Linked DNA regions of Homo sapiens: regions 1, 2, 3, 4, 6 and 7 are each linked to region 5. Evidence: promoter capture Hi-C in 16 types of primary human blood cells and fetal thymus (Javierre and others, 2016). All regions are on one chromosome and are shown on one strand. Each heading gives the region's core, a stretch centred on a gene start or on the middle of the fragment in contact. The rest is flanking DNA. Distances are from core to core; before and after follow the strand shown. Region 1 overlaps FIRRM (FIGNL1 interacting regulator of recombination and mitosis). Region 2 has its middle 7.1 kb from the start of METTL18. Region 3 has its middle 15 kb from the start of SELE. Region 4 overlaps FIRRM (FIGNL1 interacting regulator of recombination and mitosis). Region 5 holds the start of F5 (coagulation factor V). Region 6 overlaps BLZF1 (basic leucine zipper nuclear factor 1). Region 7 has its middle 23 kb from the start of METTL18.

What was found. Contacts are between HindIII fragments. The CHiCAGO score rates a contact against its expected background, and 5 or more counts as called.
Region 1: a fragment that was not itself captured here is called in contact with the fragment with the promoter of F5 in region 5 in 14 of 17 cell types (neutrophils, naive B cells, monocytes and 11 more); the score reaches 17.1 in neutrophils.
Region 2: a contact is called between a fragment that was not itself captured here and the fragment with the promoter of F5 in region 5, in 12 of 17 cell types (neutrophils, total CD8 T cells, naive B cells and 9 more). The highest score is 13.9, in neutrophils.
Region 3: a contact is called between a fragment that was not itself captured here and the fragment with the promoter of F5 in region 5, in 1 of 17 cell types (naive B cells). The highest score is 5.1, in naive B cells.
Region 4: a contact is called between a fragment that was not itself captured here and the fragment with the promoter of F5 in region 5, in 4 of 17 cell types (neutrophils, naive B cells, total B cells and 1 more). The highest score is 9.2, in neutrophils.
Region 6: a fragment that was not itself captured here is called in contact with the fragment with the promoter of F5 in region 5 in 1 of 17 cell types (neutrophils); the score reaches 6.0 in neutrophils.
Region 7: a contact is called between a fragment that was not itself captured here and the fragment with the promoter of F5 in region 5, in 5 of 17 cell types (neutrophils, total B cells, naive CD4 T cells and 2 more). The highest score is 6.8, in neutrophils.

What each region holds. Positions count from the first base shown.
Region 1 is chr1:169,805,669-169,809,031 of GRCh38, reverse strand. It overlaps FIRRM (FIGNL1 interacting regulator of recombination and mitosis), which reads right to left. Exons shown (of 25, transcript NM_001320047.2): 8 at 2,944-3,028; 9 at 1,103-1,241. Among named protein-coding and RNA genes, the nearest start is that of FIRRM, 12 kb to the right of the region's middle. The HindIII fragment of the contact is 6,965 bases long and covers 1-3,363 here.
Region 2 is chr1:169,786,046-169,789,569 of GRCh38, reverse strand. It overlaps a transcript of FIRRM not described here. Among named protein-coding and RNA genes, the nearest start is that of METTL18, 7.1 kb to the left of the region's middle. The HindIII fragment of the contact is 3,263 bases long and covers 1-3,192 here.
Region 3 is chr1:169,746,909-169,750,658 of GRCh38, reverse strand. No RefSeq gene overlaps it. Among named protein-coding and RNA genes, the nearest start is that of SELE, 15 kb to the right of the region's middle. The HindIII fragment of the contact is 544 bases long and covers 1,120-1,663 here.
Region 4 is chr1:169,829,346-169,832,947 of GRCh38, reverse strand. FIRRM (FIGNL1 interacting regulator of recombination and mitosis) reads right to left here. Exons shown (of 25, transcript NM_001320047.2): 14 at 3,499-3,602; 15 at 2,607-2,689; 16 at 2,201-2,252; 17 at 442-531. Among named protein-coding and RNA genes, the nearest start is that of FIRRM, 36 kb to the right of the region's middle. The HindIII fragment of the contact is 1,207 bases long and covers 1,325-2,531 here.
Region 5 is chr1:169,584,979-169,588,530 of GRCh38, reverse strand. F5 (coagulation factor V) reads left to right here and starts at 2,050. Exons shown (of 25, transcript NM_000130.5): 1 at 2,050-2,302. The coding sequence starts at 2,145. RefSeq lists enhancers at 1,575-2,074, 2,075-2,576. The HindIII fragment of the contact is 11,391 bases long and covers 1-3,552 here.
Region 6 is chr1:169,371,500-169,375,317 of GRCh38, reverse strand. All of the region lies in intron 2 of BLZF1 (basic leucine zipper nuclear factor 1), which reads right to left. Among named protein-coding and RNA genes, the nearest start is that of BLZF1, 5.2 kb to the right of the region's middle. The HindIII fragment of the contact is 3,501 bases long and covers 71-3,571 here.
Region 7 is chr1:169,770,520-169,774,172 of GRCh38, reverse strand. No RefSeq gene overlaps it. Among named protein-coding and RNA genes, the nearest start is that of METTL18, 23 kb to the left of the region's middle. The HindIII fragment of the contact is 3,028 bases long and covers 876-3,653 here.

The sequences.
Region 1 (3,363 bases), core at 579-3,078, 220 kb before region 5:
GACTGGCAGGGAAGAGCGCAGGTACAAAGGAATTCCCTGTATCAGCTTGCAGATGTACAATAGAAGGGGCTATGTCATTGCTATTCAAGGAAGAAATATTCAATTCATGGTCCCATTAAAATTATTACATATAGGCTGGGCGCGGTGGCTCACACCTGTAATCCCAGCACTTTGGGAGGCCAAGGCGGGTGGACCACCTGAGGTCAGGAGTTCGAGACCAGCCTGGCCAACATGGCGAAACCCCGTCTCTACTAAAAAAATTAGCCAGGCGTGGTGGCAGGCGCCTATAATCCCAGCTACTCAGGAGGCTAAGGCAGAACGATCCCTTGAACCCGTGAGGCAGAGGCTGCAGTGAGCCAAGGTCATACCACTGCACTCCAGCTTGGGTGACAGAGTGAGACGCCATCTCAAAAAAAAAAAAAACAAATGACATATAACTGTTAGGTCCTGAGTACTATTAATCTTATAATTTAGGACTACTATAGTTAAATAAAATTGAGGGCTAGTCTGAAAGCAAAAGGTACTATGTATAACAGTGTTACAGGAAAATGAGTTATAATTCCCAATAATCGTACTACAAATTTTTAGAATATAATGTTTCATAAATGGGATACCAATTCAACACTCTAACTTTTCAAAATAAAAACAAATGTATGACTATATCAAATTTAAAAGACTGATACATACATATACATGCACAAACATACTTGTATCCCTAAAGGTCGCAATGCGTTGGTGAAGAAAAAATGCAAGATTGATTGCAGCTATATCAGATCTTATACAAATATGAACAAAAGAATTTTTGTTCTCATGCAGAAAAGAATGAAAGGATTCTGAGAAGAATGCTGTGACCAACCAGTTACCAAGCAAAGAGGGAGCCAGGCAGACCCCAGAGGCAATGACAGCAGTTAGGAATCTAATACAATGCTCTGGGTGAAAAGTAATTATGGGATATAAATAATCCCACAGATCAAAAAAAAACACCCAAATGAAATAAATTAAAATCCTCTTAAATAGACTGACCCAGACATTCAAATGAGATTTACTAACTGCCAAAGAAAATAAGAGTTGCTGTTTAAAATGCTATTAGCCCAAATTTTACCTGTGCATCTGACTGTGTCATCTGCTCAGCTAACTGTAAACAAGAATGGAAGGAGAAAAGAATGTCTTCACACAAGCTAGTAATTATATCTTTGTGTTTCAACTGGCTTTTTATTATGGACTGGTGCTTAAGGCTCTGCCTAAATGAATAAAAAGAAAAGAATACAATCACCACAAGTAACACATCAAGTAACTTAGGACCTCTAACAATATCTACCTTGTAGAACATTTAAAAAAACAATCAAAAAGCATCATATATCACATAATATAACTAAGATGTGCCCAGTTTACCTCTGAAGCAGTTATATTTGTTTAAATAAGTTGCTAATTTTTTCTCTGTGTAAAATATTAATTGAATTCTTACTATGTATGAGGCATTCTACCAGGCCCTGGAGACAAAGGGGTCAAACAAATGGACACAATCTCCGCCTTACCTGCATGAAACTTGTGGTCTAGCATGAGAGAGAATGTTAAATAATTTTAAGAATAATTAATTAGGGCTGTGATTTGTCAAATGACAGAGTCTAAGGTGCTACAATAGAGAGACCTAATCTAACTTATTCTTAGGGTAAGGATATCAATCTAACTTAATCTTAGGGTAAGGATATCAAAGAATGTTATCATGAAGATATAACTCTTAAGCTGAGAACTGAAAGACAGTAAGCAGGAGTTAGCAAGGTACACAAAATAGGAGAGAGAAGCATCCTAGGCAGATGGAAAAACCACGAAAAGACTCTGGGACAGGAGAGTTTGGTATGTTTGAGGAACTAAGAGTAGGGAGAGCAGCATGAGACAGGCTGGTGAAGGAGGCAGCATCCACAGAGGATTAGGTTGTTATTCTTAATCAAATGGGATAGACTTCAAGCAATAGAGTAACATGATCTGATTTACTTTTTAAAAGATCATTCTGCTGGGCAGAAAATGAACTGGAAGAGGGTAAGAGTGGAAGATAATCAGTGATGATGATAGTGATGTGGCTAATTCCTTGAGTATTAACTATGTGTCATGCACATTTCTAAGCATTTCACAGTGATGAACTCAATTCTCACTATAACCCTGTCAAGAAGTTGCTATTATTATTTCCATTTTCAGATGAGCAAACTAACGTTCAGAGAAATTAACCAAATAGCCCAAGGGCTCAGAAGGAGTAAATGATTTCAAGAATGGATTTAAGCACATGTGATACAGCTCCCAGGCAACACTCTTAACCACTGAATGGCAACTTAATGTCCTGGTAGTACAAGAAAAGTACCTAAGACCTGAAAATACACTGACCTTTAATGTTTTATGTATGTGTATAAAGTAGATATTCTTAACCATTTTTACATCTCAACCACATCTCCTCTCACCCCTAAGAATCTGATGAATGCTACAGGCACTATCCCTGGTGACCCTTTAAAATGCTTCAGTTTCAGAAAGTTAAAATTACTGTACAAATGGAATTAAGTGTGAACAACTTAAAAGTACCTAATGAAAAGATTATATTCAGTTTTAATTATAGTTATCAATTTATCTAATCCTAGAAATAGGATACTTGATAGCTGGTTAAACAACAGTAGCAGAAGAAAAGTGGTTAAGTTCTAGTCTGGCCCATGGCCCATTATTTCTGAAGTACTAGCTAACTAGGAAGAACATTTTTTTTAATTTTAGAGGCCACAGGGTAAAGAAGTCCAATTTGGCTTGAGAGCTACATGTAGAATATCTGGATTATCAGACAGCAGTGTCAGTGAACATTAAATTCACACAAAATGTTTTAAATGCAATCTAAAGAATCATGAATAATTAAGATTGGGGAATATGGAAAACATTTTCTAAAAAGTAAAAAATAACAAACAAACTTACTTAATTATAAACTTCCAAGTATTGGCATGAAATGCATGGTCCATACTGGAAATAACAGAGCAGATATCCAATAAAGAATGAATAACTGCAAAGAAAGATAACAGAACTTTTAAGACATCCAAATGTCATGGGGGTGAGTTTCTCCTATAATTAAAACTATCTACTGAACAATTTCAACATTTGATTGAATTAAAATACGTAACACAACTTGGAAACAGTTGTGTCAAAAGAATTATTTAAACTATTTAAGTGTCACACTTGTTAATGGTTTTTATAAATATTGAATATTAACTTCTGAAGTTTATACCTACCAGATGACCTAAATAAAACTAAAGATGTTCAGTGGAATAAAAGTTGTACCCTATTATAACTGAAATATTCTACAGATATAATTCTAATCCAAAATGACAAAACAAATTG
Region 2 (3,524 bases), core at 312-2,811, 200 kb before region 5:
TGCTATGTTCTGCCTTTAAACTGCCCATTTCTCAGATGTGCCTGTCCTCTAAGTTCCAGTTTTCATGTCCCACAGACGACGTTCTGTCCATGGTTCAGAAACTCATGGAAATGTCTCTGTGCTGACTGAGTTATGACTTCTCTGTGTCAAATGTGATGGCCAGTGACACATCTGCTATAGGGTCTGTGGGGTGGATAAGTGTCAGCGTTTCATCTGGAGAATTAGATTTTCGAGAAGATTAAACCTATCTTCACTTTTCAATGCCGTCCATAGTATTTTCTTCAGGTGCTTACTAAATGGTCATTTGAAAAAGAGGAATAGCAAGGAAACTCTGACTCCATGAACTTGAGTCTTTGCCTCCACTTCAGCTGGGACATTTTGAATTTTTTATACCATGGTTATGATGGCATTGTGATTGTTGATAATAAGGATTTTCTTTGGGTAAAAGTACACATTTAAAATTGCCATCATAACTAGCGCAACCCAGGAGAGAAGTTGCTCTGTGCTTTGTAAGACTCCTCTACTGCAGTCCAAGGATGCAGCTTCTATATAGCCCAGATGGTTGGGGGAAGCCACAGTACATTTATGACTACTAGCTATCCAATTTCTGCCTTTTCAAGGAATTAAAATTCAGATAGCCCTTAAAAGGAGTTTCATCATCTATACGGGAGGTTATCTAACAAAAATGCTATTTCTGTTTGAAAGAAACTATGTAAAAATTACAATTAACGATTACAAAGAACAACTTTATAACTTAAATATTATCTAACTTAAATATTACTAAAGAAAGTGGGGCATTTTACCCCTCACAGAGCAAGGTGAGTGGCCAATTTGTGATCTGCAAAAAAAAAGATTTGACGCAGGGATACTGTAGCTATCTTTTTCCATTTACTGATGGGATGGAAAAAGTGGATGTAAAGGCTTGCCTTTGGCAGTAAAGTTGACCCTTGAACAACATGGGGGCAGGGGTGCCCACCCCCCTGCAGTTGAAAGTCCACATACACCTTTTGACTCCTCGAAAACTTAACCACTAATAGCATACTCTTGACCTGAAGCCTTACAGATAACATAAACAGTCAACTAAGACATATTTTGTATGTCATATGTATTATAGATTGTATTCTTAACAATAAATTAAGCTAGAGAGAAGAAAGTGTTAAAAAATTAGGAGGAAGAGAAAACATATTTACTATTCACTAAGTGGAAGTGGATCATCATAAATGTCTTTGTGCTTGTCATCTTCAAGTAGACTTCAAGTATCTTTGAGTAGACTGAGGAGTAGGAGGAAGAGGATTGATTGATCTTACTGTCTCAGGGGTGGCAGAGGTGGAAGAAAATCTGCGTATAACTGACCATGCAATTCAAATTCATGTTGTTCAAGGGTCAGTTGTATATATTTTAAGCCTTTACAATAGAATTGCATGTACTTAGTCTCATGAAACCCCAAGTGCCTTGGCTGTGCTGCTGCTAGACTGTGTGGTTCACAGTACAAAGATAAAGATGCTCCTTCCTCCAGGCAGATTCAGCCCCATGATAGGGGGAATGGTGGGGTAAGTCAAACAAAATCTGTTTTTAGCCCCACTTGCCCTTTCAACTCTTCTTAGTCATCTTGTGGCTTAGTACTACAAACTTCCACAGTCTTCCAACTGATAAGATATAGGAAAATGGGCAAAAAGTGATCAACATGAAAAAAAACTATGTAACATACATCACATGTAACATACATCACGTTACAGGGGGCTGTAAGAGATGGGTTTTCCTTCTCACAATGATTTGGTGCTCACAAGAGCCATTCCATTGAGGACATCCAGCATGGCAAAATGGAATAAAGTTTTAGTAATCTCATTGTGCAGCAGATTGTTAAAGAAAAAAATGGTTCAATGTTACTTGTTAAAGCATGGTAAGGCAGACTTTATTCATTACCATTGAGATAGTATAGGGACCATGGCAATGGGATTTTGCAGTAGTGGGGAGAAAATAGTCTTAACTGCAGAGTATGGGCAAGTGGGAATTTATAGCCGAGGAGCAAGGTGGGTCAAGGAGTCAGTGGATGAAAAAATACTAAGAGGAAGCATCAAGGGTAAGGAGGATTCTAATCTAACAGAACCTAATAGAATTCTCGCTGAAGACAAGCCAGACACTACCAGGGAGGGAGATAGTGACTTTTGAGGTGGGGATTCTTGCTAAACTGACTTAGCAGAGCTCTTTACTAAAACTGGATTTTACCAAAAAGTCTGCAGGTGGGCATAAGAGAAAGCCCAGAAGCCTAACTAAATTTTGGCCAAGGAAAGAATCTGTCAAGGTGAATGCAGAGTTTGAACCGGAAATTAGGGCTACAGAAGCAAGTATTCCTGTGTGAGCCTCCCACCACTGCACACTGCACACTGCACACTGCACCCTGCAGGGAAAGCATCAAAATGAGCACTGAAGTCAGATGGCTGCTGAAATCTGTCCCTATCGCCCCATTCAAGAGCCTTAGATGTTCTCTGTGCGTCCTGGCTACACTGCAGCAGCAGCAGCATAGTTCTGAAAGCCTCTAAACATAATCCAGTTAGCCACACAGTATCTGTGTAGCTCTAGTAATTTTCAAAGTCTGCTCTCAAACCTCCAGCAGGTCTCCACCAGTAAAGTTCTACTACTGGTCCCAGTAGAGCGGTCACGGATCATTCAATCAGCTCAGTCACCTCTCAGATCTTCCTAAGGCTACAGAGGAGAAATCAATGTGCTTCACAATGTGTAGATAACAAACTTGTCCACTGTAAGATCCTGAAAATTTTATTCAAAGAGATAAATAGGAAAAGAAATTTCTATTCTGTCATGTCTGGTCAAGACTTGTCCAGATTCTTCTTTCTGTGTGTCTAAAATGTCCTAGAGCTCAAAATTCTTCTAGATCTCTGCTATTTTAGGATAAATAACTTCTAGTGAATTTCTGTAAACTAGATGGTGCGCTTATTTTAAATTGCATGAAAAAAGTATTCAGTGTGTGGGCATTTTTTTTAAAGGGAGAATGCGTGTGGAAAGGTACACTAATGCCTAGAAATTCAGAACACATCCAGTCAGCTCAGTGGCACAGCAAATTGTGCCACTCTCTATGCCAGCTTTTTTATTATCATTGCTATTCCACCCTCTTTGCGTTTTAAAAATCTTCAGAGGAAGACCTATTTTTAATGATTTGCTTTTCTTCCCTAAGCTTTCCACAGATTAAACTCTGCATCCTGTTTGCTTTGCTGTGTTCAAGCTTCTCCAGGATTTTTACAATAACTTCTAAGGAAAAATACCTCAGAGATGCATTTTCTTAGAAGGGTGGTCAGACGTTTTGAATATTCTGCATTTTATTTTCTTTAACAGGAAATACATCCAAGCCTGTATTTTAAATATTAAAATAACCACTCGTTTAACTTTGTGACTAGCTTTCATTTTCCCAAAGTAGGAAAAAAATATTATTTATATAACCTCCCTCTTTGTGTTTCTGAAATACTTCAGAAACTCTTGTGTCTTATCTCCCAACATTGTTCAACATAAAG
Region 3 (3,750 bases), core at 142-2,641, 160 kb before region 5:
ACAATATCATGCTGAACTTTTCAAAAGCAAAGCCAAATTTCTTTTAGGGACCCATCACTCAGCAAAACAAATGTCAAAACAAGTTTTTCTTGACTTGAACTTTTACATGGTCACGTACAAAAAGGAAAATGAGTGTCTAAGTCAGCACCAAAGATTATAAGATAGATGGAAAAATGATAAGAGAACATCTCATATTTTTGCTTATGTAGGTAAGAGACTGAATCTTCTTGTAAAAAATGTTTTTTCTTTCTTTTTTTTTCTTTTTGTTTGTTTCTACCAAGTGGACTATTTTCTTTGGAGAAGAACTAATGCTTATAGCAACACTTGTATATACAGTGGTCTCTGGGCTTACAAGACTTAACATTTGCAGTTTTGAGTATTAGATGGACATGACATTTGATACTTTGCAATTTTGCTGAGACAGGGATTTGAATTCTGTACACAGCAAAAAGAAAGGTAAGTGTATGTTGGTTAGAATGTCTCCGAGCTAGGGAGTGAGCTATTTTCTCTAGGGTTCTGTTGGTCTTGATTATATAAACAGGTATACCTTGTTTTTATGGTACTATGTAGATAATTGAATTTTTTACAGATTGAGTATTTGTGGCAACCCTGCATGAAGTAAGTCTATCAGCACCACTTTTCCAATGACATGTGCTCACTTTGTGTCTGTGTGTCACGTTTTGGTAATTCTCACAATACTTCAAATTTTTCATTATCATTATATCTGTTATGGTGATCTGCGATCAATGATTTTTTATTTTATTATTGTAATTGTTTTGAAGTATCATGACCTGTGCCCTCAAGGTGATAAACTTAATTGATAAATGTTGTGTGTGCTCTGATGACTGGCTGTTTCCCCATCTCCCTCCCTCTACTCAGGCCTCCTTATTCCCTGAGACACCATAATATTAAAATTAGGCAAATTAATTAACCCTACAATGGCTTCTAATGGCAAATTGAGCATTGGCTTCAACTTAAAAGTCGCCAGCTGTGTTAGCCCCTAATAAGAGAGTCTGCCTGTCCTTTCAAGCTTTGAAGCCAGGCATCATCATGTAAGTGTTCAAATGAAAGGAAGGGTCACACATCTTACTTTAAATAAAAAGCTAAAATGATGAAGCTTAGTGAAAAAGGCATGGTGTAAACTGAGATTGGCTAAAATCTAGGCCTCTCATATCAAACGGTCAAATTGTGAATAGAAAGGAAAAATTCTTGAAGGAAAGGAAAAGTGCTATCACAAAAAATAGTAAGAAAGTGAAACAGTCTTATTGCTGATATGAAGAAAGTTTTAGTGTTCTGGATAGAAAATCAAACCAGCCACAGCATTCCCTTAAACCAAAGTGTAATCCAAGGCCCAACATTCTTCAATTCTGTGAACTCTGAGAGAGGCGAGGAAGCTGTAAAAGAAGAATGTGAGGCTAGTGGAGGTTAGTTTATGAGGTTAGAGGAAAGGAGCCATCCCCATAACATAAAAGTGCAAGGTGAAGCAGAAGTAATGATGTAGACACTGTGGTAAGTTATCCAGCGGATCTAGGTAAGATCAATGATGAAGGTGGCTACACCAAACGACAGATTTTTAGGGCATAAAAAATGGCTTCCTATTGGGAGAAGATGCTATCTAAGATTTTCATAGCTAGAGAAGAGAATGATGCCTGGCTTCAAAGCTTGAAAGGACAGGCAGACTCTCTTATTAGAGGCTAACACAGCTGGCGACTTTAAGTTGAAGACAGGCTGGGCGCTGTGGCTCACGCCTGTAATCCCAGCACTTTGGGAGGCCGAGGCGGGTGGATCACGAGGTCAGGAGATCGAGACCATCCTGGCTAACATGGCGAAACCCCGTCTGTACTAAAATACAAAAAATTAGCCGGGCATGGTGGCGGGTGCCTGTAGTCCCAGCTACTCAGGAGGCAGAGGCAGGAGAATGGTGTGAACCTAGGAGGCAGAGCTTGCAGTGGGCCGAGATTGCACCACTGCACTCCAGCCTGGGTGACAGACCAAGACTCTGTCTCAAAAAAAAAAAAAAAAAAAAAAGTTGAAGCCAATGCTCAATTTGCCATTCCAAAAATCCTAAGGCCCTAGAGAATTATGCCAAATCTACTCTGCTTTTGCCCTATCAGTGGAAAAACAGAGCTTGGATGACAGCACTTCTGTTTACAGCATAGTTTACTGACTATTTTAAGTCCACTGTGGAGATCTACTGCTCAGAAAAAAAATTTCTTTCAAGATACTACTGCTCATTTGACAATGGGCCTGCTCACCCAGGAGCTCTGAAGGAGATGTATGAGGAGATGAGTATTGTTTTCATGTCTGGTAACCCAGCGTCCATTCTGTAGCCCATGGATCAAGGAGTCACTTTGACTTTCAAGCCTCATTAGTTATGATATACATTTTGGGCTAGACACAGTGGCTCAAGCTTGTAATCCAGTGTTTTGGGAGGCCAAGGTGGAAGAATCACTTGAGCCCAGGAGTTTGAGTCTTCAGTGAGTTATGACTGTGCCACTGCATTCCAGGTTGGGTGACAGGGTGAGACGCTATGCCCCCACAAAAAAAGAAATACATTTTATAAATCTATAGCTTCCATAGATAGGGATTCGTCTGATGGATCCGGGCAAAGCCAACTGAAAACCTTCTGAAAACGTTCACCATTCTAGATGCCATTAAGAATACCCATGAATCATGGGAGCAGGTCAAAATATCAACATCAACAGGAGTTTGTAAGAAGTTGATTCCAACCCTCATGAGTGACTTTAAGGGGTTCAAGACTTCAGCGGAGAAAGTAAGCACAAATGAGATAGAAACAGCAAGAGAACTAGAATTAGAAGTAGAGCCTGAAGATGTAACTGAATTGTTGCAATCTCAGGATAAAACTTTAGTGGATGAGGAGCTGCTTCTTATAGATGAGCAAAGAAAGTGGTTTCTTGAGGTAGAATATACTCCTGGGGAAGATGGTGTGAACATTGTTGAAATGACAACAAGGGATTTCTAATACTCCATAAACTTAGTTGATAAAACAGCACCAGAGTTTGAAAGGATTGACTCCAATTTTGAAAATTCTACTGTGGGTAAAATGCTATCAAAGAGCATTGCAGGCTACAGAGAAAAAAAAAATCATTTATGACAGGAAGGGTCAATTGATATGTCAAACTTGATTGTTGTCTTACTTTAAGAAATTGCCAAAGCCACCCAGTCAGCAGACATCAACACTGAGGCAAGACCTTCCACCAGCAAAAGATTATGACTTGCTGAAGTCTCAGATGATCATTAGCATTTTTAGCTAACAATGTAAACACCTTAAACTGAGATAAGCTAAAATCTAGTCCTCTTGTATCAAACAAATTGTGAATAGAAAGGAAAAATTCTTGAAGGAAAGGAAAAGTGCTATCACAAAAAATAGTAAGAAAGTGAAACAGCCTTATTGCTGATATGAAGAAAGTTTTAGTGGTCTGGGTAGAAAATCAAACCAGCCACAGCCTTAAATTAAGGTGTTTACGTTGTTTTTTAGATATAATGCTATTGTATATATAATAGACTATGGTATAGTAAAAATGTAACTTTGATATACATTGGGAAACCAAAAAATTCATGTGGCTGGTTTTATGGCAGTGGTCATAAAACCGAATGTGGTTTTGGAGATATTGTGGGAACCAAACCCATAGTATCTCCAAGGTATGCCTGTATATAGTTTATGCAGAAAAGGTAAATGCTGTGCATTTATATTTAGATTATTCTCAATATTTTCTATTAAAAAGTATG
Region 4 (3,602 bases), core at 679-3,178, 240 kb before region 5:
GCTTAGATCACACCAGTATTTAAATTTAAAATAAATGGAGGCAAGGCCAGGCAGAGTGGCTCACACCTGCAATCTCAGCACTTTGGAAGGCAGAGATGGATCACTTGAGCCCAGGAGTTTGAGACCAGCCTAGGCAACATAGTGAGACCCAGTCTCTACAAGTAATTTTTTTAAAAATTAGCCAGGCGTAGTGGTGTGTGCCTGTAGTCCCAGCTACTCAGGAGGCTGAGGTGGGAGGATTGCTTGAGCCCAGGAAGTCGAGGCTGCAGTGAGCTGTGATCGAGCCACTGTAAAACCAGCCTGGGTGACAGAGCGAGACTCTGTCTCAAAAAAAATAATAAGATAAATTTTTAAAAATGGAAAAAAAAAGGCTATCAAAGGAGTCTGAATCCAACTCTGAGCAGCTTCACAGACAGTGACAAAGATGATATCCTTCCTTGCCTGATGGGGTGGTGCCATGAAGAAAAAGAGACGCTTCAACAGTATTGATAGGTTGATGAGTTGATAACATTCTCCAGGGCATGACTTTATCTGGAAAAAGACATGAGAGAGAGAGGAGAGACTGACTAATTTAGAATCAGAATTTTTACAAGAAGAGAATATGCCAAAATATTAATAGCAGCTCTTTCTAGGGGAAAAGATTGTAGGTAATATTGACTTTTAATTTGGGGCTTTTCTTATCTTCAATGAATCTAAATTTAGAATGAGATTGAACTTCTGACATATTTAACACTGTAATTTCTATTTCTAATTATCATTTTGATGATAACTGGGTATGTCAGTCCTCCTACTCAAAGACAATTCATGGAACTTTTTAAGATCTAACTACAATAGTAGAGAGGTAGATAAAACTCTACAAGACAGAAGCTTCATTAAAAGATGTTACAGGGGCTGAGTGTGGTGGTTCACAACTGTAATCCCAGCACTTTGGGAGGCCAAGGTGGGAGGACTGCTTGAGCCCGGGAGTTTGAAACTAGCCTGGGCAACACAGCAAGAACTCCATATCCACAAAAAGTTTTAAAAATCAGCTGGGCATAGTGGCGCATGCCTGTAGTCCCAGCTACTCAGCAGGGTGAGGGAGGAGGACCATTTGCACCCAGAAGTTTGAGGCTGTAGTGAACTATGATTGCACACCACTGCATTCCAGCCTGGGTGACAGAATGAGACCCTGTCTCTAAGAAAAAAACCACCACTAACAAAAAAATTTTATAAATTCAATTTTATCAATTCCTATCATAATATAGTATCATTCCATCCTGGAATCAATTTTATCATAATGAACTAGAAGAAATCCATTCCTACAACATAATGCACTAAGAAAGCTTTTATTTAAAGGAAACTTCAGACATAAAACACATAACATAAAAATCACTCTTTATCTGCTTTGTGAAAGATATGTTAAGGATTTAGTAAAGTGTGTAAGTGATAATCCAGACCATCAGCCATGGAGACATAGATGTCAGCTGTTCAGGTTATTACACACCTCACTGGATCTGATCTACAAAATCCTTTAAAGGTAAACCAAGAAATATATGATACAATAAGACTATTAGAAAACAAAAGATGTATGGCCCACATAAGATCTTAAAGGCCAGGGAAAAAAATATGTAACAAATAGGTCATAATCATCTTATATGGAACACATAAAACACCTCAGAATTTAAAAGCAAAAAATGTTAATGTTAAGATGATGAAATCATTATAAAATAATTTTCTGTCTGTACCCATTCATAAAACATGACTTCTTTTGCCAAAAGTATCTATCAATGTCAAACTCAAGTTCCTCTCAAATCATCTTGACTTAAAAAAAAAATACAACAAAATCAAGAGTCGACTTGTCTAAGGCATATTAGAGAGACAGAAGAGAGAAACCTCTTGGCCATCAATTATAAGTCGCTCTTATTTTCTACTTTGCATTCAATTTTAAATGTAATTTCAATTAACCCAGTCTTTCCTTCCCAGAACAATTACTGAAATTACATAAAATCCTGAGAATATGAGAAAACATTCCCAGTTTCACACTAACGGTTTTTTAGTACATCCTTCTTAAAAGCATCAGCATTAATACAAGACAAAGACTGTCAAAACAATCTTGTTACTGTGATATTTCTCCCGCCGATATTCACATTCTTAAAGATTATCATATCCCCAAAGGAAGTGCATAGAAAGTGGGTGTTTTAGGCCTTGTAATTCTACGCACCAGATGAGCCACTATGGTGACATGGTGTGCACACAGTTCAGCAGTCCCATATCTGCAATATAAAAGAGAAGACAACTATGTTTATACAATTACTCAGAAACATAAGGAGATGAACTTGCATAAAGCACTAAATATTCTGATGAGGACATTAAAAACTGCCATTATTTCCATGACCAAATAATATCACAATATACAAAACTCCCTAAACAGTACTCATCTATTGGCTTGAACCAAAGAAAGAACTTGTTTCCTAATTTAATGCTGTAATATGAAATCAAAGCGTTTTGGGAATTATTTTTAAAGGATTATTGAAACAGTTTTTCTATAAGCTTACAATTATAAAATTATCTACTGTCAGTCACTACTAATAACCAATCCAAAGAACAAAAAAGCAAATATGTTGTACCGAGCAAGGAAGCACCATGCATCCATAGCTAACAAAGAGGTGATCATATTAGCACTAAGTACAGCATTCAGCAGAGCAGCATCCTAATCAAAAACAGAAAAATTAATTTATTTAAATACTAAAGTTCACAATAAGCAATAATATTATATTTCTCAAAATAAAACAAGAAAGCACTATCAGAATCCAAATAACAGATCCTCAATGGGGGAGTTCTACTTTCTAGTATCTGAAAGGACACTGCCATTCCCTCAATATTTATTGAGCACCTACTATACATTAAGTACTGTGCTGTGCTATGGAGAGTTCAACATGATTTTAAATGTAATAACTCAGTCACTAGGATCCACAAAGATTCTCTAAGTAGCCTGAAATATTCAAAACAACATAAATAACATATATGCTTATATTCCTCTTTCTGCCTTTATTCACATACAACATTTAATAGGTGCTAGATATTGTGTAATATCTGAAATGCTACTGATCTTTAAATTTCAGATATTACAAGTATCGAATTCCTAGAATTTCTTAACCTCTTTTCAAATCAAATTCTATCCTTTTTAAAATCTATATTATGTCTGAGATCTATAAGAGACCTGATACTACAAGCTATTTACTTTTCTTTTGAAACTTACTTAAGTACTACATATTTTTCCTCTTCTCACATTGTCTTTGCATACCTCCCCACCCAAAATGTTTTCTCAAATATTTTAGCCAAATATTAGATCTAAATAATACAGGAATCTGGGATTACCATTTTCTAGGACACAACTAAGTTTCACTCAAAAGGAATATACTAAGTATTCCCACATTTTCTTCTGTATATGAATCACAATTTCAATGAAGAGAAAGCAAAAGTGTAACCTTAGCTTAGCACAGTAAGTAATATGCTTACCAGTTCAGCAAACAGTGAGGGATGAAAGGAAGTAATAAATGTACACAGATGAACACAAACATGCTGATACAAGGTGACAGCCACCTCAGCTTTCCCCTTACTCT
Region 5 (3,552 bases), core at 801-3,300:
TATAGTAGTCATCTTGTCTCTGTAAAATGTAATTAAATAAATATGTCATGTACACTGTATATACATAAGCAAACATGCAAATAAAAAAGCAGCCTACTCAAAGGTTACAATAATGTTGCAACAATTCTGGTAGTAACCTTGGGATTTAGGGACACAGTGCTTTCAAAACGTTTCTCTGATACACTGCCAGTAGCATCTCTGACTGCTTATTTAAATGTCAATCAGTAGGCTAGGTGTTCTAGGACTTTGGTCTCAACCCTGTTTCCTGAGTCAGAATCTACATTTTGTAAAAGTTCCCCTGGGAATTCTGATGGTCTGCCAACTTTGGGAGACACTGATAATATTGTAGATAAAGAAGTGTAAGCAACTGTTCAGTTAGGGAGACAATAGATACCTGCATGGAATAACAAAAGGTAATTAACATGATTATATAATTTGAATAGTGTTGTAATAGTTCATAAAATGGAAAAGCCAATTTGAGCCCAGAATCTGGGAGATAGGCAGAACTCTGGACTGTAAAGAATGGCCCAGCAAAGAGGAAGAAAATGGGCATTCTAAGTTGGTGCAATAATATCAGCACAGGAGAAAAGACAGAATATTGGGGGGAGTGGGGAGGGAGGAAGAGGCTGTTGATGAGCCTGATATCATTAACAGAGACCTCATGTGAGGTGCCAGATTACAATTTATTGAATGTACTGAATGCATAAAGCATAAGACAGAAACCTGGAGCCATGCAGATACAGGGAACCCAGGACAAGTCATTATGATGCCTCAGACAATATAATTCGCAGATTCTCTATCAATAGCAAAGTAAGATTTAAGGTGCTGTGAAACAGTCAGATCCTTCAAGAAAAACAAGAATACAAGGGGTCCTGGAGACAGGAAAATATGATCATAATAATAAATTTGTGATTCCTTCTTTCTCTCTTTTTCTCTTTCTTTCTTTTTCTTTCTTTCTTTTTTTTTTTTGATGGAGTTTTGCTCTCGTTGCCCAGGCTGGAGTAAAATGGCATGATATCAGCTCACTGCAAACTCCACCTTCCAGGTTCAAGCAATTCTCTTGCCTCAATCTCTCGAGTAGGTGGGATTACAGGTGTCCACCACAACGCCCGGCTAATTTTTTATATTTTTAGTAGAGAAGGGTTTCACCATGTTGGCCAGGCTGGTCTTGAACTCCTGACCTCAGGTGATTCACCCGCCTTGGCCTCCCAAAGTACTGGGATTACAGGCGTGAGCCACTGCGCCTAGCCTCTGTGTGTTAAGTGCTGGAACTATAGTTTACAGTAGCATTTTATCCTCCCAACATACCCTATCAGGAAAAATTATTATTGTCATCCTTATTTCACAGATGTCAAAACTGAACAGAGAGGTACAGTAACTTGCCCAAGACAACACAGCTAGTAAGTGAAACTGAAATCTGGACAACTGATTTTTTTCAGCCAAGCTCTTCAAGCCCGCTGCTATGCTGCAGCTTAGCTGGCGACAGGCCCTTATCAAGGCAGAACTGTGCCTTGATAGAGGCCAGGAAGGCGATTCAGAGCAGTAGGCCTTGTCCATGTGTTTGTTCCCTGCTTCTTCACCACTTGAAAATAGTGTTTCAGTGCCCAGTAACAGGGCACAATACTCTTTTCCTCAGATTAAAAGGGGAGCCATCTGCTTAAGGTGGTTGGGTGCCACTGCACTGCACAGAAGGTTCTCCAAGTGTGAGCTTGGACCCAGGCAGGCCTCAGGTCAGTGGTAACGGACGACTGCTTCCGTGGTGTTGGCAGGTGGAAATGGAGGGATACAGCTTTGTCCGGCTCATGAATCCCTGGGCATTGTCCCGCCTGCTAGAGCCTCTGATCTCTGCCCCTTCTTCACCTGCAGTAAAACAGTCACTAGTTTGGTTGCTCTCCCTAATACCTCTGGTCACTGGGAGCTGTGATCTCACCAAACCCCTGCCAGGAAAAGCCCCAGAAAAAGCGGAGGGAGTGAGAGCCAGAGGCTGCTGCTGCCGTTTGCAAGAACTGCAGGGGAGGAGGACGCTGCCACCCACAGCCTCTAGAGCTCATTGCAGCTGGGACAGCCCGGAGTGTGGTTAGCAGCTCGGCAAGCGCTGCCCAGGTCCTGGGGTGGTGGCAGCCAGCGGGAGCAGGAAAGGAAGCATGTTCCCAGGCTGCCCACGCCTCTGGGTCCTGGTGGTCTTGGGCACCAGCTGGGTAGGCTGGGGGAGCCAAGGGACAGAAGCGGCACAGCTAAGGCAGTTCTACGTGGCTGCTCAGGGCATCAGTTGGAGCTACCGACCTGAGCCCACAAACTCAAGGTAACTCAGGTGTGGAGTCCGGGTGGGCTTCTCTAGAGAGGAAAATCTATTTCTTTTAGAGAACATTCCCTTTGCAATGTCATGGCTTTTTTTTTTTTTAACTTCAGGTAAGTAAATATAACTAATAGGAGAGTATACTGAATTAAATAAACTGGGCAAATGCTAATTTTGCATCCAACAATGTAGTTTATCATTCTGAGGGTTTAGAAAGCACCCTATTTGATTGGTTAGATGCTACCTTCTTTTCAAGTTTATTTTCAATACAGTTTTGTTAGTATGTTTGTGTTGGCTTATATATTGGTTAATTCAAAGGCACCAGGCACTTGCTCCCTCATTAGCCCTTCCTGCAAACTCCTGTTCCAGATTTTTAGTTGTATAGTATTTTTATGAGACTCCTAGTTACATATTATTTATTCCATTGTCTACATAGCTTCATCTTCTAAAACTAAAAATGAACACCTTGTGCTTTTTGTCATATAATTTTATTGCTGCCTTATAAATGACTTTCAAAATATCATCAGTTCTTGTATGTTTTTGTACTTTCACCTTTTTTCTGCTTCATATTTGACTTATTTATCCTATTGAATGTGACTCTTCATTTTTTTTTCTCTCTGTTCATCATGTCCTGGGATATGGTTTACCTTGGCTACTTAAAGGCATATGTAACTGAGAGGAGGTTTAATTCAGATAAAATACTATCCTTGAGTTGCAAACTATTTTTTCTAATTGAAATGTTAAAAATAAGACTTCTCAGAAATTAACTAAATCATACAGTCTATTCAATATTTCCAGTTAGTTATTTTTTAAATGGTAAACCTGCTAGTGTGACTCACTTTTTTTCCTTACATCACACTTCATTATGAAAGATGTGTTCCTCTTTTACAATTACAAAACCAAAGTAATCTGCCAAAAAATAATGTAATATTTTGAGATCTTTTAGTGTATAATATTAACCTTTTTAAAACTCTCATTGTAACTGGGTTATTTTGGAGGGTATTACATACCATCTTGGTCTTATAATAAGAAGAGATCCCTCCTTCTCAAAAATAATCATTTTAAATATCGTACTTCAAAGTGATAATCTAGGTCACACCCACACCCTTTGGGAACTGCCGTAAGCTAAAACCCCAAGGAAAATAACAGTCCTTCTAACACTAATCTTGCCTGCTCATGAGTAGAATGCAGACTTGGTTGTTGGCTTTCTTGTAGCATGCTGGGTTCATGCTTGGGAGTTTTTTCTCTTGTCTGTA
Region 6 (3,818 bases), core at 572-3,071, 210 kb after region 5:
TAATCTCCTAAAACAAAGACTTAAAACAGAATTCCTTTTATACTTGTAACAGTAATAAATTTCGTAAGCTTAACATATTTTTTATTTTATGGCTAGAATATATTCCCTTCAAGTTAATATAGCATTTACTTTCTTATTCTACTGTTGAATATTTAGACTCTTTACAATTTTTCACTATAATAAATAAGGCTTTATTGAACACTTTTATGCCTACATATTTTTCTTAACTTCTGAGTTATTTTTTCAAATAAATTCCCAAGCATAAAATTAATGGGTTTGGTGAAGATCTGTACGGCCGAAATGCCTTCGAAAATCACTCTACCAGTGTATCTGTGGATCTATGCCTAATATCCTTACTATTTATTTATTTGCATGCTCAATACCTATGATTTATATTGTACTTAAAAATAAATAAGAATACATGTAAACTGTTTAGAATGGTATTTGACACAGTAAGCACTCATTAAATGTTAGGTCCTATTGCTTTTATTATTCTTTAAATAAATTCCTAATAAACTTTGGATGTTGATATAGACAGAAATAAAGTTAATTTATTTAATGCCATAAAATACAATTCTGACTTTCATTCTGTTATGTAAATCTTAAAGTTATATTGCTAGACTATAGGACTATTTATTCAAGTAACAGATTTACTTTTTTCAAATTTTTCCCATGTAGAAATGTTCTGGGAACCTCGAGTTATGTTAATTAGACAGGAGGTGGAAACATAGCTGAGGTATAATTAATGTGTTCTATTTTACAAAACATTTTACATTAGAATAAAATCGTGTCATTTCCATATGAAATGTAAACTAAGTTTAAACACCCCTTGGGCCTTGGGATTGACTCTACTTTTAAAAAGATAAACAAAGGAATACTTCAGAAAGTGAAATAAAGGCCTAACATGCTGGGTTTGGTAAATTAGTTAAAACAAAGCATGGTAGCACTGACAAGGAGAACTTCCACTGAATCATTTAAAAACAGCTTACTGCAGCCTTGACTTCCTGGGCTCAGGTGATCCTCCCACCTCAGCCTCCCAAGTAGATGGGACTACAGGCATGTGCCACCATGACCAAATAATTTTTTGTATTTTTTTTGTATTTTTTTTTTTTTTTGTAGAGACAGGGTTTCATCATGTTGTCCAGAATGGTCTTGAAATCCTAGGCTCAAGCAATTCTCTGGCCTCAGCCTCCCAAAGTGCTTGGATTACAGATGTGAGCCATCACACCCAGCTACCTGTATTCTTAAAATCTGATTTTAAGTTTGTCTAAACTTAACTAACTTGTCTAATCTTGTCAATAAGACATTCTGGCATTTAAGAAGTAACACAGAATCATGTATTAACTATAAATTAATAAAAACCATCAACAATAAAAACACGCACTACAGCCATGGTTCAGGCCCACTGAGGCTGAGGAAATAAAAAACAGGTGTGATACTTCCATTATGGTCAAATAAAATTTCTAGGCAAGCTGTAACATTTTTGAGTTGGAATTTTAAGTAACAGAGATTCAAGAACAAATTACAAAATGATTAAAGTTAAATTTAAAAGGCAAAGAACCATTAATAGGTATTTAACAGAAATCTCTTTTTGAACAAAATACCTTGTTGGAAAATCAAGAAGTTCAACCAACTTGTTTCCACCCCAATTTACTCTTAACTTTATTTAAACTGTTCTACTTACTCAAGCATTTATGAATATCAAAGTTGTATTATATATTACGTGAGAGCTCCCGCTCAGTAATAACTATGATTCTAGCTAATGTGCATAGGTAAACAGGCCGTAAGAGCCAGGGCTTAACATTTTCTCACCTGGTAACTTTCGTAATTCGATTTTTCCTTGTGACATACCTAGAAACCTTTATTACATATGCAGTAGGCACAATCCAGGACACATTTACGAATAATTACCTTCTCTCAATTGGGAAGACAAGGACCTATGGTAACAGCTCCATAATTATGAGTAACGCTTAAGTCAAGAAAAACACCAATCCTTATTCTTCCCCACTATTTGAAGGGAACCAACAAAACAATCCTTAAATTATTCATCATCATTACTTCCACCTGTGATCAATTATCAATGAATTAAAACATATCTAAGGTTTGCTCATTCGTATTGCCTACCAGGATTGGTGAAATGTAGGGAAAGAACAAAGAAGGTCACTAGTCTAACATTCTAGGATGGGAGCTGGCAAACTTTTTCTGTAAAGGACCAGAGAGTAAATATTTTAGGCTTTGTGAACCAAAAGGTAAAATTGAGGATACCATGTAAGTATTTAATAAGAGAAAAAAAATTTATTGATGAAATTCAAACTATAACAACAATAATTGAAAACAATTTTTTGATAACATAGGTCTAATAATGGGAAGAACAGATTTTTTTTTAATTCAGGATAATGTTTGGCTTAAATAGTGTTAATGTCCACTATTATCAAACTGATTGCAGATATTCTCAGGAGGCTGAGGGCCACAATTTGCCAACCCTTGCTCTAGAATATTGAGGCAAAAAAAAATTTATTGTCTGTCATTGAACAAATATTTCTCTTTTATTCATAAAACTTCAATCTATGATGAGAGGTACTCTAAGTCAGCAGAATGGGGTAGTGAAAAGAAATCTAACTCACTAGAGCCTGAGTTAAAATAACTTAAGTCCCTACTGCCATGTATTGTGTGACCTTGGACAAAGCACTTAACCTCATCCTCCTCCCATCCCTTGGTGCTTTCAGAGTAATGCAAACATGGTAGTATATATTTTAAAAATAATTTGTTTCTCTTGTAGACTAGACTGTTGGGAGCTCTTCAGGGTATGGACCGCCTCCTAATCTTTGTGTCATGAACTAATAAAATGGTCCTTGTCACAGAGAAAATGAATAAATGCTTACTGAAGCTCATTAGTCTGTTAATACACTACCTAGAGTGTTTCATTTTTAACATCCAAAAACTAACCCATTTAAAAACTGCTTTATTTTTTTTCCTCTACCCTAAATCATTAATTCCTAACTTGGTTATAGTCTGAAAGACTTTCCAGAACATATACAAATTCAGCTATGATACAGTTAAACAAATTAGGGATTGTCATGTGGTAATTTTAAATCAAGAGTCTTTTTAAATGTCACCCATATCACCTAATAAAGTTTAGTTATTATTAAATTAGTAAAATAAGTTACATACAATGGACTTAAGAGTAACATCGAGATTTACTGAAGTGGAATCTAAGCATTCTTCTTACCACAGGCTCTATGGATAGAGATCCCTGGTCAAATAAGTGTGGGCAATGTTGCATACTGCATCTCTACAGAGTTTCAATGTACATTAGTATTAAAGTTATACTATAGGACTCTGAGAGGTCCCATAGTATAGCCTCTCTTTTAATACAGCATTTATCAAATTTATCTGCTCATGGAATATCTTTTTTACCTAACACCTATTATTCTACAGAACTAGTGTTAGACTATTTTATGGAATCAAAAATATTTAAATGTCTCAGACCTTTCTATTTGGTCTACTATTACTAAACTAGTTGACTTTAATAGCTTTATTTTCAATTTTAATCCCACATCCAAGAAAAGCTTTGGATTTTAAGTTTCTAATTGTTACTATTTACTGTATGTTTCCCTTTCAGAAACAGCACTAGCAGCCATGATACAACCCTCTTATGATGACAGTGCTGCTCAAATGTCTTCTGAGAGGAAGTTCTGTTGCTATACCAAACAACCGTACTTATCTCCTGAGGCAGTTACAGGAAGCACAGACAACTGACAAATGTCAACCAAGTACACCTTTTCACAGGCCATGCAATACAAGTAACTTTTGTTCAC
Region 7 (3,653 bases), core at 1,140-3,639, 190 kb before region 5:
AAGTATTTTGTGGTTTCTTTTTTTAAAAAAATTTAAATGTAATACATCTGGAATTTATTTTAATGTAAGATGAAGGCAGGAACCTAATTTTATCCTCCCTCCTTTCCTTCCTCCCCTCTAATGATTAGCTATTTGTCTTAACCCTATCTATGCCAATTTCTGCTGATTTGAATTATGTCATGTTTATCATACCTTAAATCTTCATCATAATTAGGTATAGTTCTGGTCTTTTTATGCTGTTTCATTGCTTTGCTGCCTATTGCTACACTAGTATTAAATTGTTTTCATCAATACACCTTTATAATAGAATTTTGTATCTGGCAGGCAAGACTCTCCTTGATTTCTGTCCTTTTCAGACCTTTTTTGTTTTGGGGGGAGTGGTGGGGTCCCATTCACTCTTCATATATGCTTATATTTCCCAGGTAAACTTTGTAATTATCTGACAATTTGTAAGCAATTCCTAAGATATTTCGTTTGACATTGTATTAAATGTATACATTAATTTGGTGAGAAATGGAACACCTAGACTATTAAATATTAGAATCCAGTAAGATGGTCTATCTCCCCATACATGTAAGTTTTTTTTTCTTTAGGCCATTATTAACATCTTTTAGTTTCTTTACATATCCTACAAATGTGTTAAGTTTATCCCTATGTTTCTTCTATCTTTTTTTTTTTTAACATTGTTAAAGTGAATAGGATTTTTCCCATTATATTTTTAAACTAGTGGTTTCTGGTAAATAGGAAAGCTGTTTATTTAGGACATTTCCCTTTTTTTTCCTAAGCTTGTCTTCCCTTGGCTTTATGACCCTTCTCTTTTCGCGGAATGCCTCAGATCTCACCTAGGGAAGCAATGTGGAGTAGCAGAAAAAGCTTTGGTTTAAAATCATGTCTTTGACTCTTGGTTCTGTATCTTAGAAATTGCATGACCTTGAACCAGTTAGTTAACTGGTTCTGAATATCAGTTTCTTCTTCTGAAAAATTGGGATCATAAAACCAACCTCATGGGTTTGTTGTGAGGATTAAATGAAATAATATGTGCTACACTTACTAGGTTCCAGTCCCTAGCATGATGCACATATAAATGCTCAATAAATGTTTGTTGAATAAATACTGTTAATAGAGAGCCACAATCTCCTAAAAGTATACCATGAGCATTTGTCCCTTGTACTTTTTAAGAGAAGAAGGTAACACATTATTAGATAAAAGGTCACTGAGCAAATTTTAATCTGCAACCTGGTGCCATGAATGAACAAACTGGGAAGTAAGAGTAGGGAGGCTTCCTGTCATGGAGGTGGCTACATAAATGGAATAATTCCAGGGGACTCAGAAACCTACTGTTCATACCTGTTTCCCAGCCATTGGCCACAGTGTCTGAAATGAAGTCGAGAGCCTGCTGTTGGGCCAGACAGCATTCTCCCCTTAGGTTATCTTTGAAAATACAATCACATTTGGACACAATATAAATCAGTTTATCAAATCACTTTTTTTTTCTGTAGAGATGAGATCCAGGCACCATGATATTTCTGGTGCCTATGGAAAAGGAAGACACAAAAAATGGAAAAGGAGGATTTCAAAGATTAATTTTGCTTGCATGACATTTTCCCCAGTAGTTGCCTGGGCAAGGGAACTCATTTGCAAATGATGATCTCTCATTTTCAGTTGAGGGTATTTCCTATTAGTCAGTTATCATTATGGCTTATAAATATGTCCATTGTAAGTTTGCTAAGTATACAGCAATTCCCCAGAGGCTGGTTAGTCCTTGGTAAGTTTATGAATTTAACAATTTCAGGAACACGGGGTCGAAAGGTAAGGTACAACAGCCATGAGGTTGGAAGGAAAGAGCTAACACCCTGTGTCTTACCATGTTAGTCACTGAAAGCTATTGTTTGATTCCTATGGAAAGTGTCTTCTTAAAACAAATCTTCTCTGAGAATTGTCTTTCCACTGTTGCCTAGACCAGTTAAGTATACAGGTCATTTTCTTGTTCTTGACAGAGTTTTGGGAACAGTAAATCCTAAGAACCCCAGAGAATCTTGAACTTTCTAATAGGAGCTTCAAGTTTTCTGTTTTTCTGTCCTGAACGGGAAATAATTTTACAGTTATTAACTTCAACCAGTGAAACACCAAAAATGCTTCACTAGGAACATGTCCAATATCAGTGATCACATTTAAAAATCCTAAGTGAACAATTACATAAATTATCTAAGGACTCTTCTAATGTCTTACTTTCCTGTCTAACTGACACCAAAGAATAAAAATCTAAACTCTTCTTTCTCCAGTGCTGTTTTTATTTCTGCTACCAGTATCCTCTTCTTGGCAAATCAGAAGTCTTCCATCCATCCATCCATCCTTCCATCCATCCATCCATCCATCCATCCATTCTTTCACCCATCCAGTCATTCAGGCGATAAGAATTGAGAACATACTTAAGTGCACATTAGCTAGCTCTATGCTAGGTAATGTAGAGGTACAAAAAGCAGAATAAAATACTATCCCTGATCTCAAACTATTTACATTTCCCATAGAAAGACAAGACATGCTAAGACTCTGTGTCTGTTTCCTTTCACAGAAAAGTCTCTCAAGAATTGTCTGTGCTTGCAGGTTACATTTTCTCATTTCTCGTTATCTCCTCAATCTACTCTAATTGGTCTTCTGTCTCAACACTCCACTCAAAGTGCTCATCATATTTCCAAATCCAATGGTCACTTTTCTGTCCTTATATTATTTGACTGCCCAGAAGTTGATGACTGCCTCGCCTCTTTGACACCCTTCTTCTCTTGCCTTCTATGATGCTTCATCTCCTGGCTTTCCTCTCCACCTCATTGGGTGCTCAGTGTTACTTATTTTGCCAGTTTCTATTCCTCTTATAACCATCTAAATGTACACCAGAGTCCTAGGCCTTCATTGCCTCCTTATCTTCACCTACTTTGAGTATCTCATCTACTCCCCTGGCTTTAAATACTATGCATTTGCCAATGATCAGATTAATTTCCTTTTCCCTTACGTTTCTTATTTATTTATTGAGACAGGTTCTCACTCTGTCACCTAAGCTGGTTTGCAGTGGCGAGATCTTGGCTCACTGCAACCTCCGCCTCCTGTACTCAAGTGATCCTCCCATCTCAGCCCCCCAAGTGGCTTGGACCACAGTCATATGCCACCATGCCCAGGTAATATTTTGCATATTTTGTAGAGACAGGGTTTTCCCATGTTGCCCAGGCTGGTCTCAAACTCCTGAGCTCAACTGATCTGTCTGCCTTGGCCTTCCAAAGTCCTGGGATCACAGGCCTGACCTACCACACCTGACCCTGTCCCTTACCTTTCAATGGGCTCCACTCACCTGAAATCTCCACTGGGATGTCTAATAAGCCTCTCAAAATTAATTTGCAAAACAAAGCCTGTGATTCTCAATCTCCTTTATCTCAATTCACAGCACCCATTTATTCAGTTGCTCAGGTACAAACCTAGGAACCATTATTAATTTATTTTCTTTTTTTTACTCTCATATATGATCCATAAACCAAACCTATTATAGACTCTACCCCCAAAGTAGAGTGCCACTTTTATTTATTTCTACGACTACTATCCTAGTCTAAGCTACCATTATCTCTTGTCTGAGCCACTGAAATAGCCCCTAACTTAGTTTACTCCTA